3 separate regions of the Homo sapiens genome follow, and all the other regions are linked to region 2. The links are contacts of gene promoters, found by promoter capture Hi-C in human tissues and cell types (Jung and others, 2019). All regions are on one chromosome and are shown on one strand. The core of a region is centred on a gene start or on the middle of the fragment in contact, and the rest is flanking DNA. Distances in the headings are between cores, read along the strand shown. Region 1 holds the start of SPAG11B (sperm associated antigen 11B). Region 2 holds the start of DEFB104A (defensin beta 104A). Region 3 holds the start of DEFB106B (defensin beta 106B).

The links. Contacts are between HindIII fragments. The study calls those that stand out against the background at their distance.
Region 1: the fragment with the promoter of SPAG11B here is called in contact with the fragment with the promoter of DEFB104A in region 2 in 15 of the 25 tissues and cell types used here (H1 embryonic stem cells, adrenal gland, aorta and 12 more).
Region 3: a contact is called between the fragment with the promoter of DEFB106B here and the fragment with the promoter of DEFB104A in region 2, in 20 of the 25 tissues and cell types used here (H1 embryonic stem cells, IMR-90 fibroblasts, adrenal gland and 17 more).

The regions. Positions count from the first base shown.
Region 1 is chr8:7,461,982-7,465,783 of GRCh38, forward strand. SPAG11B (sperm associated antigen 11B) reads right to left here and starts at 1,561. Exons shown (of 3, transcript NM_058201.4): 1 at 1,462-1,561; 2 at 726-878. The coding sequence starts at 1,522. The HindIII fragment of the contact is 17,874 bases long and covers 1-3,802 here.
Region 2 is chr8:7,833,860-7,837,732 of GRCh38, forward strand. It overlaps DEFB104A (defensin beta 104A), which reads left to right and starts at 2,577. Exons shown (of 2, transcript NM_080389.3): 1 at 2,577-2,683. The coding sequence starts at 2,626. It also overlaps the pseudogene LOC124901865. The HindIII fragment of the contact is 6,880 bases long and covers 1-3,873 here.
Region 3 is chr8:7,484,027-7,488,094 of GRCh38, forward strand. It overlaps DEFB106B (defensin beta 106B), which reads right to left and starts at 2,374. Exons shown (of 2, transcript NM_001040704.2): 1 at 2,308-2,374. The coding sequence starts at 2,356. It overlaps DEFB105B (defensin beta 105B), which reads left to right and starts at 3,653. Exons shown (of 3, transcript NM_001040703.3): 1 at 3,653-3,764. The coding sequence starts at 3,695. The HindIII fragment of the contact is 12,606 bases long and covers 1-4,068 here.

The sequences.
Region 1 (3,802 bases), core at 311-2,810, 370 kb before region 2:
CCCTCCTGTCTTTCTTGCTCTTGCCCACTGATCTGCTAACCTAGTTCTCCCTGTCTTAGGGTCAGCAATCAGCTTGGCATTAAAGAAGCATCTTGGAAACTACAGGCTCTTCCAGGCCCTTTTGGATTTGAAGCTGGTCCTGCCCAGGGGTTTGGGGGCTGACCAGAAGCCTGGCCCTTCTGGAAGAGTCCAGAAGAGTGGCTGTGGGCTCAATTGTCCCTTGCCATGTCCTGCTACCTCCTTGCCTGAGTAGACTGACAATACAGTCTATTCTCTGCCCCCATTCTCAGGAAGCATTTCCCAGACCTCAATGGACACCTGAAACTTAGTAGGTAGGTATTCAGTAAATTCCTTGAACGGGAACGACCTCCAAAGCTAAGGGCATGGGGCTGCAACCTGGCAGGAGGCCATGTTTCCACCAGTGTCTCCTCTGGCACCTGTTCTTGGAGGAAGCCAGCAATTACAGGTGTGGCTTCAGATAAATTGCCTTTTGGCCCCTCAATACTCCCACGTTCCACAAGGCCCTCAATGATCCAGCCCCAGGGGAAGCTGTGAGACCCCGTGGTCTCCCTGACAGGCAGGGCAGCCCAATGCACCCGCACCATGTCTTCCCCAAACAATGACTGCTCACCCACCCCGACCAGCACAGACATCTTCCCGTCTATTTGTTCCCTCTACGTCTCCCCAGTGGATGCACTTGTTGCACGTGTTGGTCCCTGACTCACCTTGGTAAGGTGGGGTGCGCGGTGGTAAGAGGTCCCGTTTCACTGCGTGGCGTAGCAGCTGAAACCCGTTTGTGCCTTGCCCAGGGGCTCTTTCCCTGAGTTCTCCGAGAGCCTCAGTGGCTGAGTGGTTCACATGTCTGGCTTGAGACGATCCTGTGCAAGTGGAAACACACGTCTGAGGATGCTCTGAGGCCTCCGCCTGGCAGACCCGTCAGCATGAGGCACCTACACTCTACCAGGTGAGTGAGCATGGGTGATTGGGTGGGGGAGTTGGGAGGGGTGCTAGTGTTCCGTGTGTGTGCACGTTTGTGCACATGCGTTGTATGCACCTATGTGTAGAGAGAGAAGGTGAATGAAGTGTAAGAAATGTATGCCATGAATGGTGAGTCTGAGCACCTCCTCAAAGCCAGCACAGCCAGAGAATTTATTTCAAGTGTCACTAATGCAGTTGTTAAGATTCCCTAAAATGTAATGTTCTTCTCTGTAAGGGAAAGGGGAATGTTAAAAGGATAAGAAAATGGAGTCGGGGAGGGACACTCTTCCCTGGGAAGCAAGTGCCATCAGCCAATTCAGAGTGCCATTTATGAACCCAGTTCAGAGACTCGTACCCAAAGCTCCACCAGGAATACATGCCCCAAGGACTTCATCTCTCCCTGTCCAGCCTGGACTCCCATACCTCAGATGACCATTGCAGAGAGATTCTGGCACCCAGACCCGGGTCACCTTTCCATTTTACCTGGAAACAGCAGGGCCACAAGGAGAAGGCTGGTGACGGACGGGAGCAATCGTTGCCTCATGTCTGCCAAGAGCACTGCAAGCCAGAAAGCACCCAGGGTGGGTGGGCAGGCAGCGGGGCTCCTTTGATGGAGTGAGGCTGGGTGTGTGGGCCCGGAGCGTGGGAAGAGCTGTGCTCCAGGATGACTTCTCATTCTCAAAGGACAATGTGGACACGCTACTATCCCACTGCTGGTGGAACAAACACTTGAGACACATATTTCAGGAAGTAAATAATACGCCTGAATGCCTTGGGTGGGTTTGGTGAATAAGGAAGAACAGAGAGAAACAGAAAGATGAAAGGCATGGAGGGGCAGAACAAACATAACTATCATAAAGTTGCCAATGTCCTCAAACGCTTCTCAAAAGCCCCCTAATGTTCATGAGAACAGGGACATAAATAAACTGCCATGTCGATTCTATCCTGTTGGCTGAGCGTTTTTATTTTAGTGTTAAAAAATCATGCATAAGACACACAACATAACAGGTAGGACCTGGTTTTACAAACTATCCCTTCCTGAAGTTATACAGAGAGTTCCAAGGCTGCTCAAAATGTTCTTTTCTTTTTCTTCTCCTCTCTGAGTCTCTCTCCCTGTTTCTTGGTCCCCTCCACTTCTCCTTCCTCACTTTGGACCCCCCTCCTTTCTATTTTAACTTATTTGAGTTGTCTTGATTTTTCTCTCCCCTTTCCATTCTCTTTACCCCCAGACACCTCCTGTTGATGTCACTGGGTCCAATTCAATTCTTTTAAAAAAGAAAAAAAAAATCTGTGTTTGAGTCTGGGTTTTCTCCTCTAGTAATATCCAAGCAGAGGACTTGTCTTCCCTTCTCCTTCATCTTTTTAAGCATTTTAACCAAGTGTGTGTTTCTTACTTGGCTGCATTAGCTCAGGTATGCATGTAACCCAGACAGTCTGCTCTGGACTTAACTAAAGTGAAGAAGGCTTTGGTTGAAGAGTTTTGTATTCACATAGCATCCAATGTAACATCAGTGATGTCTGGAAAAGATAGTGCTTATCTCATATGTCTCATTTGCATGTATATTTTAATCCAGACAGAGAAAACAACTTAGGTCATTTGTGTAAATAAAAATACTTACTCTCTACCTGGAGAAAGCTGGAAGCAAATGGAGAAAGAGGCAGCAATGACAATAGAGACCTGGGCATCCGCTGAAGCACCAGCAAAGGGCGGAAGGTTTGCAGCTGCGGACAGTTGCACATAGCAGCTGCCCTGGCAGCACAATGCGGAGGCCACTATCTTTTGGGTCTCAGGACAGATTCTCCACTGCAAAGCATGAGGTGCTGGTCAGGGAGAGCAGGAGCATCATTCACATCCTTTCACTTTAAGGAATTAGGAAGTCTTCCAATTCCAAGAGCACAGGGCAACACTGCGGAGATAGGTGACAACTGGCCCATGATAAGTTTCTTTAATCACTTACTGCATCAAATTCTGATAATTGGATGTTGGAAGAACATAGACAGTCAAGAAAGGAGGTAGACAGCTGCTCTACCTCAACCCTAAATGAAGATTTATTCGCTCATCTACATACTCTGGGTATTTTTTGTACTCTAGTTCAATAGCAACTTCTTACAGTTGTATTTGTAATTATTTAAACTTGGAATGTGGATCTTTTATAACAGTGATGGAAATTTTGGAGTATATTGGTAACTTATTTCTATATATTTTTATCTTCTCTATAAAAGGAAAGAAAACAAAAACAAGCCTATTCCACCATTCAGATATTAATAGTAATGAATCATTAATCAAAATCATGACTTAAAATATAACAGCATTTGAGTAATTACCACCCAGGTAACGGAATCTTCTTTGAAGTCGTTAGAATTATTTGAAATTATTTAAATGAAGAAACTGAGCCAAAAATAGTTAGATCTCACTTCCTTTGTCTACGTCTTGAGATAAAGTAAGCCCCCTCTTCCATGCTTCTGAAAAGAACAATCTTAAAAAAGAGCAGCCGGGAAAGCCTAGTTCTGCTCTTTGACAGGCAAAAGCTGGTGAAGTCGTAATAAAGGCAATTAATGTTACATCTGTCCTAACACAACAATGCTCTCAGCTCCTGTCCTCTTCTGCCAGATTTCTGTGTCCTAAAAAAATCTTTGAATAATTCTCTTGCTAAAAGCCACATCCATCCTGAGGGGGAGGATGGCAGAACCCATTATAGAATATTCTAATAATTGTTTCAAGTTTTTTTTGGTCCATTCAATCAATAAATCATATTCTTTTTTTTTTAAGCTGCTTAGTATGTGGTATCTTGATTCGTTTGGACTAAGTAGGTGGGCTAAAGTA
Region 2 (3,873 bases), core at 1,327-3,826:
TGGACATGTTTCACAATATCACTCTTCCCTTCTCCTTTCAGGGCAATGAGGGCTTCCATTCTGGCTCTTCACCATGATAACCTTGGGGGCTTCCTGGATTTAAAACCCAGGAAAGCAGGGGTTGAGAAGGGAGAGCCTTTGACCATGGTCTCTAGCAGTTTTTCACTCTCCTAAATGTCCACGTTCAGCCTCCAGCAAGTTGTCGAAATCACCGTAAGTGTTCCTGCTAGTTCATGGTTTCAGAGCTTCCATTCCAGGTTAGCTCATCTCAGCTGTGACTCCAGATTTCCACGCAATGGGTTTGCCCGGAGCCCTCAGTTCCCTAATGGGTCCAAGAAAAGTCATTGATTTTTCCATTTATTTGGCTTTTTTTTTTCTTTTTTAAAGGAGTAAAGTAGTTACTTTCAGTCTTTTTACTTGTAGCGACCGAAACCAGAACTCTGAAATACTTTATAAGGACTCAGCAAATAAAGCTTTTATTATTTTTTTCTCCTAAGAAGATATAGGATTTCTTTTGAAGTTTGGTTATTCAGTCCCTGTATATGAATTACTTTTTTTTTTTTTTTGAAGAATTGCTGAATATTTATTATCATCAGAATTTTTCAGTTTTCTTCAGAATCCTGGTCACATAGATGACCTTGAATATTGGCTGATGTTTTTCCCTTGAAGCTCATCATCAAAAATTACTAAAGCCTGACATGTGGCAGGCTAGGAGGGTCCCATGGATCCTGCACATTTGTGCTTGCTGTGTGTCTGCTGTGAGGAGAGTATCCGACGGCCTCTACGTGCTGCACGTTTGTAACCTGCGGCAGGATTCCCATGGCTACCACTCTTGCCCTGGCTGCTTCCAGGCAGTGAATGAGCACAATGTGGACTAGAGCTGGGCCATGTCTGCTGGTGTAGGACAGTCTTTGCCCTGGGGTTCCCCACTGGCAATGCTGAAATTTTCTGCACTGTAGTCTGAGGCTCCCCCGACTCCAAACCTTTTCACAGGTGTTAATTGACATCATGTTCTGAAGACTTTCCCTACTCAATCTTGCTCCCTCTCCCCTTCATCTTTTTGTTTTGAATTTTTATTTTATTTTATTTTTTTCAGAGACAAGGTTTTGCTGTATTGCCTACTACACTGGAGTGCAGTAGTGCCATCATAGCTTACTGCAACCTCGAACTTCCGGGCTCAAGAGACCCCCCTGCCTCAGCCTCCCAAGTAGCTGGGACTACAGGGACACACCACCATCCCTGGCTAATTTTCTTTTTGTGTAGAGTCGGGGTCTCTCTATGCCGTCCATGATGGACTCAAACCCCTGAGCTCACATGATCCTCCTCCCTCGCTCAGCCTCCCCAAGTGCTGAGATTTACAGGTGTGAGCCACTGCGCCTGGCTCCCCTTTATCTTTCACAGGCATTTCCCAATAAATTTATTTCCTTTCTAATTCCTGTTGATAAATGCTTCATGGAGCACCCAAACTGGCATAGTTTATGATTTCTGATGTTCTATTCTATTTCGTTACTGTGAAAGGAGACCTGGTTTTCCATCACATTCTCCCCTAAGTGAGAACTCTGGGGAAGACACACTGACTGCTAGATTTTGCTTAGGATGTGCAAGCAACGTATGTCTGTCAGGCTTTGTCTAATCTGTGTTCTAGAATAAGGGGAGCTTATTCGAGAATGTCAACTTTCAAGATTGGACGTTTTTACTTTCTCTAAAGTACTTCATTTTAGAGAAATGAAGTATTTTTTTTTTCTTAAAATAAAATTATCTGGTGTTTTCCCTAAGGGCAAATGCCAGGAGCATATGCTCTATATGTTTTGCCTCGGGTGGGGTTGGGGTTAAATCCAGGGAGCATACACCCCGGGTTGAGGGCCAGGCGTATGCTCTCTGGAAGGTTATGTTTTATTTGAAGCCATTGTTAGAAATACAGCATTCTCATGAATTGTCTCCTTTTAACCTCTCTTCTCATTCTTGTCCTCCTTTTCACCTAAGCCCTAAGTGAGCCTGATGCTCTGTGGTTACAATCCCACCCTTGGACAATGCCCGCCATCAAGTATTCCTTGTTGTCACTTGTCATCCTCATCCTACACTCTTTCTATCACAGAAATGTCCTGGGACCTTTCACGCATTTATGACCTCCCCACGCTCCATGCCATTCTTCTCCTTGACATTGTATGTTTGTTTCAATGTTTACTTCAGAGAGGTCTTGGGGGCTATGGACTTCAATTCCATTAGCCACATCACAATTTTCAACAAGAATCTCCTGACTGAAATGTACTGAAATGGAAGAGAAAGTCCTCTCACCAGAATTGAGGAATGTCAAGGCTGGAAGGTATCTTAGAGATCATCTAATCCAGTTCTTGCTTCAGAAACGATTCAGGGAAGCAAGTGAAGTGACTTGGACTTTACCTATGGTAATACTCTCTCCCCACCCTCAACACTGCCCAGCTGGCATTTCTGTAGCCCCAACACCTCCCCCACACTGTGCCTTGGTGAGTGTTCACCAAGGAACGCTGCATTTTGATAAGCCTCAGTAATCAAGAGCAGCCTCTGCCCATAAATACACCTGCCCTGCTCCTGCCTGGGGTGATTCCCTCCGACTTGCGTCTGCTTCTCGCCAGCAGCCCCAGCATTATGCAGAGACTTGTGCTGCTATTAGCCATTTCTCTTCTACTCTATCAAGATCTTCCAGGTAAAAAGGGACTCTCAGCTGGAAATATACACAGTTGCTGGGGATGACAGGGGGAGAAGAAAAACATTTGATTTAGAAAATAAATCCTGAAGGATGGAGTAACCTTCTTCAATCTCAGCCTTTTTTCTCTTTGCTTTCATTGGGTCCATTAGTAAAATGCAGTATGTGGCAGTCCTTGTATGCACCTTACAGCCACGAGGCTTACTAGCTCAAGGAGGAAAAAAGAAACGTAGGGATCAGGAGTCCTAGATGTCCTTGGCACCCTGGCCACACACGGTAACAATTCCTCATGGAATCCTCAGCAATGAGGACTCACTAGCCATGCTTGTTCCATTGCAGGGCAACAGCAATTATTCATTGTTGATTTTGTAGAATAAGATGCCTTCCCCCATCCTCCTCCTTCTGAACAGCTTTACTCTGCACAGAAAAGGGCGCCTACTCATCCTCCTAAATTTTGCAACTTTTCATATCAAGTCAGATGATTAGGGTTAAAGGGGATGCAGTGATTTCAGTAGGCAAGAACGTAATTTACTGACAACACAAATAGCAGGTGCCTTTGAACTCTGCTCAGGAAATTTTAGACTGAGATGTCAGCAATCTTCTGACTCCTACGTTAATCTATGTCCCCAGAAGCATGTATTTCTTAATATATTTGCAATGGATATGAGAGAGCACCTAATCTAATTCCCTTCTTTTACAAGCTGAGCAGCATTCTCTATGGTACAGTGAGAGAAAATAAGATTTTTAGAGTTGCTTAACAAGTCTAGCAGTGCTGGGACGAAACCAATTGTTTTGACTCGTAGAAGCCATCGGATCTTCTCTTCCAAGCTGCTCAGTCAATTTTATGGGGCTTTGACAGACACCCAGCACCCATCTTTTTGCCCTTCCGGGCTGTGCCTCCACTGTGATTCAGATGGGTTAATGATTTTTTTTCAGAGGGTACCTGTTTAGGTTAACTCTTCCTTTTTCTTTCTTCCCGTGTCATTTCCCAAAGACACTTCTGTGAAATTCTGCTATGGGCATGTTCCAGGTCTGTTAAAATATGATAGCAATTTATCAAAGAACAGGTTTTCTTCAACCTTTGATCCCAAGACAAAGAACTTGGGATGGAAAGCCTGGGTCAGGGATCCCTCCAGATCCCGAAGAATGCACCGCAGAGCTGGCTGCCATTATCCACACTTGGCTGCAGA
Region 3 (4,068 bases), core at 1,124-3,623, 350 kb before region 2:
CTAGTATATAATACTACTAGTAATAATATAGTATATATACTATATTATCATACCAGTATATATACTATACTATATACTAGAGTATTATACTAGTATATATACTATATACTAGAGTATTATAATAGTATATATACTATACTATATATTAGTGTATTATACTAGTATATACACTATACTATATACTAGTGTATTATACTAGTATATACACTATACTATATACTAGTGTATTATACTAGTATAATACACTATACTATATGCTAGAGTATTATACTAGTATATACACTATACTGTATACTAGTGTATGTACTAGTATATACACTATACTATATACTAGTGTATTATACTAGTATATACACTATACTATATACTTGTGTATTATACTAGTATATACACTATACTATATACTAGAGTATTATACTAGTATGTATACTATGCTATATACTAGAGTATTATACTAGTATGTATACTATGCTATATACTAGAGTATTATACTAGTATATATACTATATTACATACTAGTATATAATACTACTAGTAATAATATACTAGTATAATATAGTATCTGGCCAGGTGCAGTGTCTCACACCTATAATCCCAGCACTTTGGGAGGCTGAGGAGGGTGGATCACGAGGTCAGGAGTTCGAGACCAGGCTGACCAACACGGTGAAACCCCGTCTCTACTAAAAATACAAAAAATTAGCCAGGCAAGGTGGCACATGCCTGTAATCCCAGCTACTCAGGAGGCTGAGGCAGGAGAATCGCATGAACCCCGGTGGCAGAGGTTGCAGTGAGCTGAGATTGTGAAACTGCACTCCAGCCCGGGGAACAGAGTGAGACTCTATCTCAAAAAAAAAAAAAAATATGTATATATATATATATAAAATATATACTAGTACAATACTATATAGTATATAATACTAGTACAATACCATACTGTAACATCAGTAAATAATTATAGTATATACTATGCTATACTATAATACTAAACTAAACCAAAAAGATTTTCTCTAATACTATTGTATTATAGTATTATACTCTAGTATATCTAATAGGTAATTATTAGATTATCTAATAATTATATAACAAGCATTATGTAATTATAGATAAGTATCTGTAATTACATAATAATTATAGTAACTAATTATACTTTTATAATTATAGTATTATCTAACAGATAATTTTATAGAATATAACATCTTTTTTTTGACTTATTATATAATAAGTATGAGTGATCTGAAAAAGATACCTCTGGCCAGTTTCGAACGTGCATATCAAAACCAGTGGCCTGAATACGGCATAGGTCACTGTGGGTCCTAGATCCTCATGTTTTGACACAGAATCTACTCTCACAGGCTTGTCACAAAACAGACCAGAGCTATGAGCAGCTGATGTGAAAAGTTGAGCATCATACCTGGGATCGTATATCACTGGTATCTGGCACAAATTGGGAGTTACTGTGGGCTCTGAGAATCCCTTTCTTCAGCTCTCTGGAGGCTCACATGAGCCTGGTCTTAAGCCTTAATTTTGAAGAGGATACAATTGGAGCCACTGGAGATTCCCAGGAGCAGGAGAAAATGAAGAGAGTTTTGATATGGGAAGGGTGTCTTTAATGCCTCTTACTGTGGCAAGACAGTTGGGCTCCTACCCTGGCTTTGTTTTGGTTATCTATAAGACTCTGAGAAGCACTGAGCCCATCTGAGGCACAATTTCTGCATCTGTAATAAAATTTGTAAAATGGACCTTCAAACCCAAAAAGATTTTCTCTAACTTCCATTAAATTAGGGGTAAGACAGAGTTTTCCGTAAAGGCGCTGGCACTGGAAGACTAGATGCATTTTATGTGAAGCTCTCATCACAGTACTTGGCTTGATGATATGTGATCAAGAAATGGCAGTCCAAGTTACGCTGCTTTACCTGTTGCCATGACTGGCATGAGTGCATAGGTGTCTCTAAGCTCAGATCCTTACCTGTCCCTTCTCCTTACCTGTCTCAATCTCTACCATAACTACATTTTAAAAGGTTCATAGACTGCTATCCTTGTTTTTAATTTTTTCTCAATTTTTGTTTTTGTTAGTGAGCATGAGATGGGATGCCAAAAGGCATCTTTCCTGGCCTTCTTTTATTCTTTCAAACCTGTGACAGCCCCTCCTAGATAACAATGTAAAATGCAAAGGAATTACAGAAGAGGCGTTGGGGGATATCACCTCTTGTAGTAGATGGGTTGATCACGCCCAGGCATTCACTGAAGGGGACCCTGTCTGTGGGACACCACCTCCGATCACCTTCCCTGTAAAGATGCCCATTTTACCTGGGGTCAGAAAGAAGAGCACGGCAAAGAGAAAGAGGAAAGTCCTCATGACTGGGTGGGTCTTGAGAGATCAGCACCGTGTCCATGAGGAAAGAGCCGCAAACACCCACATTTATACATTTCTCCAGACCAAGTAACATCTTGATCAGTGAGGCTTAGCAGAAACGAGAGGATTTCCATGCTCTGCTGCACAGAGCCCACCCAACCTCAGTGGGTGTCACTCAGTCTACAGCTCATCATATTTCTGATTCTGGAAAGTTTTGAAGAAGGAAAGTGGGGATGAAGGGAGGACAGAGTAGGGCAGACACAGAAAAAATAAAAAAATCTGGAGTCCAGTAGTTTCGTTTCTAATCCTGGCTGTGTTCCTGAACAGCTTTGGTTTACTCATATGTAAAATGGGAGTAATTATACAATATCTCAATGCTTCAGTTAAGAGCTGAGGAACCGTAGTGAGGTGGAATCTGAATTCCAGATTCAGTCTTTTTGAGCTTTGTAAACTTGGCAAAGGGCTTGACCTAAGCATATATTTGTTAAAAAATGTGAATCTTGCTGTATGCTGCACGCTTTTCGTGCTTGGTCCTGCCATGCTGCTCACCTGTACCATGGCACTGTTGGCGCAGCAAGGGGCTGGTAACCATCATGCCTTGCCCTAGACACCTGGGCTCAAGCAATCTACCTGCCTTAGGCTCCCAAAAGCTACGATAATAGACATAAGCCACCCATCTGGGCCAATATTCATGTCCTTAATGAATTTAAAATATGCAGTAATTATGGCTTTGGTGCGTGAGGTGATATCTTACAGGAAAGGGGACTCAGAGCTAACTTGACAAAATGATTGCTACCCCTCCTTTTCTCCCTGTGATACTTGTAGAGAATAAAAATGAAAGCTAGAAAAGTGAGAGTCCACATTTATTGAGTTCTTACATGGTACCAGGCCTCCTTCCAAGCATTCCACATATTCAAAACACTTTTGCATTATAATCATACTAGATTCTTACAACACCTTTAGAGGCAGGCAGAATTTGCAAGTGGGTTCTTATTTTCTCCCAGAAAACAGAAGCTGGAAGAGATGAAAGGGGTCACTATCTTCTGGCCCCTGCATTAGTATGGTGGAAACTCACATGGCCCCTGCTCTTTCAACCTCTAGCCTGGTGTTCTTTCCACTACACCAGTTAGACTCCCCAAAATAAAAGGCTTTCTGGATGCCAAGGGTTATTATCCATGATATCATCCCTTTATCCTGGGAAATGGAGCATATAATTGTGTTTTATTGATTCACTTCACGGATCAAGAGCATCTCCCCATTACTTTTAAATAAAAATGAGCCTCTCATTTGGGTCTTCTCAAGGAAATCCCAATCTCTATTCCGAAGAGTCTTCCCTAAAAGATGGCCCTGATCAGGAAGACATTTTATTTTCTATTTGCTATGTTCTTCATTTTGGTTCAACTGCCATCAGGTAAGTAAAAATGGATGGGATTTTGATTGGGCAGATTATAAAGCCTGTTGATTCTTCCATGTTTGACCTTAATGGTCAAGCTCTCATGGCACCTGTCATGGGAATTTCTTAGACCTACAGTGACATTTACTAAGAGCAAACAGCATATAGTGTATTTTTTTTTTTTTGTAATTTGTTTTTGCTGGTTACCTGGAATGCTGGCCTTGAGAAACAGAATAAAGATTGCAACTCTGTGATCTACTGTCTCCTGTTATGCTATGTCACATGTGAAGTTGGGAGTGTTTTATACAGTGTTAATTCCTGT